2 separate regions of the Homo sapiens genome follow, and region 2 is linked to region 1. The links are contacts of gene promoters, found by promoter capture Hi-C in blood cells and fetal thymus (Javierre and others, 2016). All regions are on one chromosome and are shown on one strand. Each heading gives the region's core, a stretch centred on a gene start or on the middle of the fragment in contact. The rest is flanking DNA. Distances are from core to core; before and after follow the strand shown. Region 1 holds the start of SMIM3 (small integral membrane protein 3). Region 2 overlaps NDST1 (N-deacetylase and N-sulfotransferase 1).

Region 1 (3,299 bases), core at 491-2,990:
TTCATGAAGCATGACTTGTAACCCCCACAGCATGATTCACAGTCCCAGGACAGCTGGGAACAGGAGGTCCCGGCTGGAGCAGGAAAACACTTTTTAGTTTTTTTCAGTTGTCACTGCAGAAGCACATGATGTCCTAAAGCTCAGCTGTGCTGCTTTGCGTGTGTCTAGATGGCTGCTGTGCGGCCTGCATAAACCAAAGAGCATGTCATGCTCAACCACAGACAAACATCTGTTCCACTCCCATGTCTTCATTTTACAGATAGGGAAGACAAGGGCCAGAGAGGGGAAATGCCTCCATTAGGGTAATTCAGAGGGTCTCCTAACCCCCAGAGTACCTGTTCTTCCCGCTCCCACCTCCACCTAATTCAGGCATCCCCAATCCTTCCAAACTATGTGGCCACTGCAGTAGCAGCACGCATCATAGCAGATGTTCAAGGAATCTCTGATACTTGTGTGATTGCGCAGCCTTCACCACCACACCCTGGAGCTTTGAGGACCTTAGTATTCACCACAGATGAACCGGAGACTCCTCAGCCCCCAGGTGCAGCAGGATTCCAGCTGGTCCAGAAGAAACAAGTGCAGCTGCATAAGTAAGAGCCCAGCCTGGCCCTCAATCAGAATAACAGCCCCTGAGGTTTGTTTCAATTTGTGGGGGGGGCGGGGGGGGTTACACCTTTCATCCTTTCACTCAGTACATATGTATGGAGCACCTACTGTTAGCCAGGCCCTGCTCCAAGAGCTGAGAATGCCTCAGAGATGACGATAGACAGGCAGTCCCTACCCTCAAGAAACTGGCATGGGGGAGACTAGGGAGCAAAACAACCAGCAACTGGAACAACTACGTCCTCAGGAAAGGGACAGCTAACCAGCAGGAGGGAGCTTGAAGGAAGCCTTCTCTCCAAGATACTTTGCTCATGTCCTTTCTCCTTTGCTTTCTGCACGCAGAAAATGTTTTCCCAATTTCACTGATGGAAAAACAAGGATGGTGAAGCAGTTAGTGACAGAACCAGGGCTGGAACCCGCCACTCCTGACTCCAAACTCCTGGCGCCTTCTACACGGGGCCTCGAGAAAAGCGGGACAGGTAAGTGCAAAGACCCAAACCCAGCGCAGCGCCCAAGCAGGTGCTCAGGCCCGGGCGCTGAACCCTGACGCTGGGCCTGGAGAGCCAGGAGGTGGCAGTCTGCCCGAGGAGGAGGCTTCCCGAGAAGGCAAGGGCAGCGGACCCGGAGAGAAGCCAGTCTCCGAGTGGGGCTGGGGTTCGCCCACCCAAGCTCCGCCTCCCCCAGGCCCAAAATTCTGTGCACTAGGAGGCTCGAACTTAAGAGCTGACAGCAGGAGAAAAAGGAGGGGGTGAGGGCAAGAAATACAAAAGTGATGAAAAGGGAGAAATGGGGAGGAGAGACCGGACATAAAGAAGAACGTTGGGAGCCCGGGGAAAGGGGCCGCACTAGAGGTAGGTCGCGAATCCGAAGAGCTCCGCTCTGCCAGAGCCCCACAAACAATCCCCCGGTGGCCCCACTCACCCCAGATGGCGGCGAGTCTGCGGAAAGTTCCTGGGTCAGGGATGGCTCGGTGCTTCTCAGGGTCCCCAGGACTGCACGGGATCTGGCAGCTGGAAGCGACCCCCAGGCCTGGAACCTCAGCCCTAGGCAGCTCCTGGAACGTGCCCCGGCTCCTCCGAGCCCCGGGAGGCGGGAGAGCGCAGGAGCGGCCAGGACGCGCTGCTGGCTCTGGAATGCGCGGCTGCTGGGGACCGCCCCCGGAACGCCCGGTCCCGGGGCCCCGGCAACTCCAGCTCAGCTCCTCCTCCAGCGTCCCCTGCGGGCTGCGTTCGGGGAGAAAGGAACCTGCGAGAGAAGGGAGAGACCAGGGCGTCTCGGGCTCCCCTTCCACGTTGCCACACACTCGCCGCGTAGCCGTGGACATGTCGCTTGGCTTCTGAGGGTCTCCCCTCTCTGGATTGTAAACCGAGAGGGTTGGCCTAAAATGTGTCCTCCACGACCTTTCCAGCTATAGAGTAGACATGGGAAAGAAAGCCTAGCAAGTAGGTTTGGACAGAGGAGCCGGGACTCAGATCCTGCTTTGCGATGTCCGAAGTGTAGGGTCCTTCGGAGGCTTTGCCACTCTGTTTCATTCTCTGTAAAGTGGGAAAGGTAACACCTGTCTCCCAGTCCTGTTGTGAGGATTGGTTTAGAGGACCAGTGTGAAGCTGGTTGGTTCTCTGCCATAACATGACTTGGAGCATCCTGTTTATTTTGTGATAACAATGAAATAGCCCAATCCAAGGTGATCAAGAGCCCATTAGAATCCAGCATCTGAGAGGCTTCCCACGCCACTGTGGGTGGCCCAGCTTCCACGCAGGACAATGCCAATTCTGTAATCTTCTGCCCCCTCTATGTCATCCATGGAGTGAGGGGGGACTCCCGTCCCATGTTGGCACCCACACTTTTTAATTCACAGTGGTTTTCTTTAATCTTACTCTTCTGAAAAAAAGGAGCACAAGCCTTGACTATCAGTGAGACCTTGAGCAGTCTTGGAGCCCAGTAGTGTTTTGGAGGGTTTGGAAAGAGCCATACTGCCTTCCCCAGGCCTAAATTTGATATGGTGTGGGCCCCGAACTTAGAACTTACTCCATGCTGTTTCCTCTGATTCAGGGATGAGGTCAGCAGAAATGACCTCTAAATCATCATTATCACACGCCAGTTTCTTAAGGGAAGGACAGTGAGGATGAAGGGGATTCACATGAGAAATGATTTGAGAAAAACCCTAAGGGCTGTCACCCAACAACATGTTTTATTCAAAAGAGATAGTGTGGGAACCTAAAAACAAGGACAACCCAATTCTGAATAGTTTAATACAAAGCTCTCATTTAATAGTAAAAAAAGATTGAAGGAGGACAATCTTTTTTTTTTTTTTTTTTTTTTTTGAGACGGAGTCTCGCTCTGTCGCCCAGGCTGGAGTGCAGTGGCATGATCTCGGCTCACTGCAACAGGAGGACAATCTTAATATGACATTTTCCCTGGTTAGTGAAGGGGATGAGAGTTCCTTTGGGTGGACAACTGGTAACTCCATGTGCCCTGCTGTGAACATTGGCTTCCCTCTGGGACAAGGCAGAAGCTCAGGCCTGGAGCCAGCTGAGTCCTAGTCTCCCTTTCCATTTAGCAATTTATTAGTATCTCTTTAATATCGACTTGCCCTGGGACCCTAAAAGCAAGCCAGAAATAAAGTATGAATCCCCACAGGAGCATACCATGTTAAGTCTGCTGCCTAGGCTAGACTGATTTTGCAAAGAGAGCAC
Region 2 (3,299 bases), core at 258-2,757, 230 kb after region 1:
CCAGGTGCCTTATCAGGGAAATAACCTGCAGAAAGGAAAAGGCAACACTCACGCCAAGGTTTTGTGGTAGTCAATGGTGTTGGTCACCCCAAGGAACTTCTGCACCATGTCCATCACTTTGGCAGGTTCTGTGCGAAGCAGTTTGCCATCCAAGACCAGAATCTGGAAAGGGAGAAAGGGGATCGGGACCTGCTTTGACTTCGGTGGCAAACAAGGGCAACAGCCACGGCAGCAGGAATGGGCCTGCTTATAAATATGGGACCCTGCACCCTCTAGAACTGGCTCCTCCTCCCCTGTTGAAGGGCAGGTATCCCCAAGCTCAGGCCTCTGTGGTCTCACGCCTGCTTTCCACCAGCTTCTGCTGCCCAATGCCATTTCTCCTAGAATTTAAGCTCTCACCAAACCCTGCCTGCCCCTCAGGTCCCTACAAACATCCCTCTCTGGCCTCTCTCTGAGCTTCCAGTCCATGTCACTCTCCTGCTCAAACACTCCGCAAGTTTGCCTAAAAGGCCTGGTATGGCTGGGCATGGCCGGGCACGGTGGCTCACACCTGTAATCTCAGCACTTTGGGATGCTGGGGTGGGCAGAGGACTTGAGGTCAGGAGTTCAAGACCAGCCTGGCCAACATGGTGAAATCCCGTCTCTACTAAAAATACAAAAATTATCTGGGCGTGGTGGTGCATGCCTGTAATTCCAGCTACTTGGGAGGCTGAGGTGGAAGAAACGCTTGAACCCGGGAGGCAGAGGTTGCAGTGAGCCAAGATCGTGCCACTGCACTCCAGCCTGGGAGACAGAGCGAGACTCCGTCTCTAAATAAATAAATAAATACATAAACAGCCTGGTATGATCAGGCTCTCCCTCCATCACCACGCCCAGTCTCCTTGCTCCCACCTGCCTGCCTCAGGGCTTTCTGGGTCCCTTTAGGGCTACAGGGCCTGTGGTGATGGGACACAGGCTTGGGGAGTTCTCATGTATCAACCTTGGGATAAACAGGTCTACAGTCTTTTTAGGCCAGGTGCAGTGGCTCATGCCTGTAATCCCAGCACTTTGGAAGACCAAGGGAGGACTGCTTGAGCCCAGGAGTTTGAGACCAGCCTGGGCAACATAGTAAGACCTTATTTCTTAAAAAAATAAAATTAGCTGGGTACAGTGGCTCACACCTGTAGTCCCAGCTACTCAGGAGGCAGAGGTGGAAGGATTGCGTGAGCTCGGGACATCGAGGCTATAGTGAGCTGAGATCACACCACTGCACTCCAGCCTGGGCAACAGAGTGAGACCCTGTCTCAAAATAATAATAATAATAATAAAATCTTTTTATAGACCCAAGGGTCTAGCTCTCCAAGGAGGGCATATCTGTCCCCACGGCTGGTGAGAAAGAGTTGGAGGCTCTCCGCTAACCACAGCAAGCCAGTACTGTGACTGCCCTCACAAGGGTCAGGGACAGCAGCTACCTGGTTGGCGTGATAGGCACTGAGCCAGCGCTCGATGTGGGTGGCGTACCAGCCAGGGACCAGGCAGCGGTTCTGGAGGGCACGCAGCTTCGAGGATGCGTCAGAGCCGGCGGTAATCACCTCATGGAAGGTGTACTTTAGGGCCACTGGGTCGTCATGGGCTCGCTGGTGCTGCAGGCAAGGAAAGAGGGTCAGCATGCCACTTGGAGGACACAAAGGAAGTGGCCTGAGAGGGACAGCAGCCCGCAAGGTGGCCAGAAGATCCTCAGCTGGACCCAGGAGCTCTGGGTCTGAGTCCTGGCTCTGCCTCTCACTGTGTCCAGTGTCAAGGGAAGCCACTGGTCCCAGAGCCCCAACTTCTCCATCTTTGAAATACGGGAACTGGACGAAATCAGGGTTTCCTGATGCCAGGCATGGTGGCTCATGCCTGTAATCCCAGAATTTTGGGAGGCTGGGGTGGGTGGATCACTTGAGGTCAGGAGTTCGAGACCAGCTGGCCAATGTGGCGAAACCCCGTCTCTACTAAAAATACAAAAATTAGCTGGCATGGTGGTGCACACCTGTGGTCCCAGCTACTCGGAAGGCTGAGGCACGAGAATCGCTTAAACTCGGGGGGTGGAGGTTGCAGTGAGCCAAGATCACGCTGCTGCACTGTTGTCATATATAGAAGGCAACCACTCACAAATGGCAATAAAAACAATGTTCTCAAACTCCAGCCAGACACAAATGTGTGCAACAGGCCCTGAACATGCTCTCTTTGTTGAAAGCAGAGGTTGACAGTGTTAGAAAGGACGTAAGACCACTTGCACTAAAGTGAGCATTTCTCCTTTATGGAAATCAGAAGGACTGGGAAAGAACTATAAAAGGGAGACTGGCTGGTCTGAATCACTTAAAATAATGCCATGGGAGGTCCGAATCTGCAGAATTCACTAAGTCCAGAAAGCCAGAGCTCAGGCACCTGTGCGACAGGCACTATCCCCCAGCCGCCAACCCCCTCCCCTGAGGATCACACACAGCCCAGGGCTGGGGCAATATGGTGCACAGCAGCGTCCTCCTCGTCCCGACCTCCTTCTGAGACAGGCCCCCACCCTTCCTCTCCTCCAACATCTTCCCAGGTCCTCCTGGGGAGAATGAGTCTCCCTTCTCCTTCTATCCCTTACCCCTCTTGATCATGGACAGAAAAAGGAATAGGGTCTTAGATTTAGAAGACTTGGATTCAAATGCCACCACATGAAACTTGCTGAAACTTGGTTTTCTAATCTTTGAGAAGGGGACACAAACGTGAAACCCCTCCTCTGCCTTCTAGAAACCAGCTGTGACTCTCCAGTAAGGTGCAGATGTACAGCAGTGTCAGTGCAGAACAGGGACTGACCCAACCTGTGGCGGCTCTCTCTCTACCCTACGTTCCCCCATGAAAGCAGACTGCCCATTCCCTGCACAGCGCCAGGAGGCGGGGGCACACAGCACGGCAGAAAACAGAAACACTTGACAAGTGTTTCTCGGTTTTCTTCTCCTAAAGAAAAAGCCACAGGAAAGCAGACATCAGGGCATAAACAGAAGCCCTAGAGAACAAGAGTAAGAAGGGGCTTCCTCACCAGCCTCAGAGAGTGGCAGGAGGAGAGACTTCCATGGGAGCAAAGAGGAGGCAGGTGCCAGCCCTGCGGGAGACCGCAAGGTCCCAGGCGGGAGACAGCCACTGTCACATCTGAGAAAAGAGCCTCAAAGCAGGGTGGGAACTATGACAGTGGCCAGGCCTGAAGAGGCTGTCCCAGCCAGGACAGGGGACACTTCTCTGGCAACCATGGGCTAAGACCCAGGGCCCCACCCCCTCCCCAACACCAAGCACAG

What was found. The method cuts DNA at HindIII sites, captures the fragments that hold promoters and counts their contacts. A CHiCAGO score of 5 or more calls a contact.
Region 2: a fragment that was not itself captured here is called in contact with the fragment with the promoter of SMIM3 in region 1 in 6 of 17 cell types (M2 macrophages, megakaryocytes, neutrophils and 3 more); the score reaches 7.9 in M2 macrophages.

What each region holds. Positions count from the first base shown.
Region 1 is chr5:150,777,198-150,780,496 of GRCh38, reverse strand. It overlaps SMIM3 (small integral membrane protein 3), which reads right to left and starts at 1,740. Exons shown (of 2, transcript NM_032947.5): 1 at 1,525-1,740. LOC124901110 reads left to right here and starts at 96. Exons shown (of 2, transcript XM_047417995.1): 1 at 96-590; 2 at 946-3,299. The coding sequence starts at 1,376. The coding sequence ends at 2,017. RefSeq lists an enhancer at 357-1,218 and a silencer at 1,656-1,845. The HindIII fragment of the contact is 6,508 bases long and covers 1-3,299 here.
Region 2 is chr5:150,546,541-150,549,839 of GRCh38, reverse strand. It overlaps NDST1 (N-deacetylase and N-sulfotransferase 1), which reads right to left. Exons shown (of 15, transcript NM_001543.5): 12 at 1,452-1,622; 13 at 53-162. Among named protein-coding and RNA genes, the nearest start is that of NDST1, 40 kb to the right of the region's middle. RefSeq lists an enhancer at 2,848-3,299. The HindIII fragment of the contact is 5,123 bases long and covers 1-3,299 here.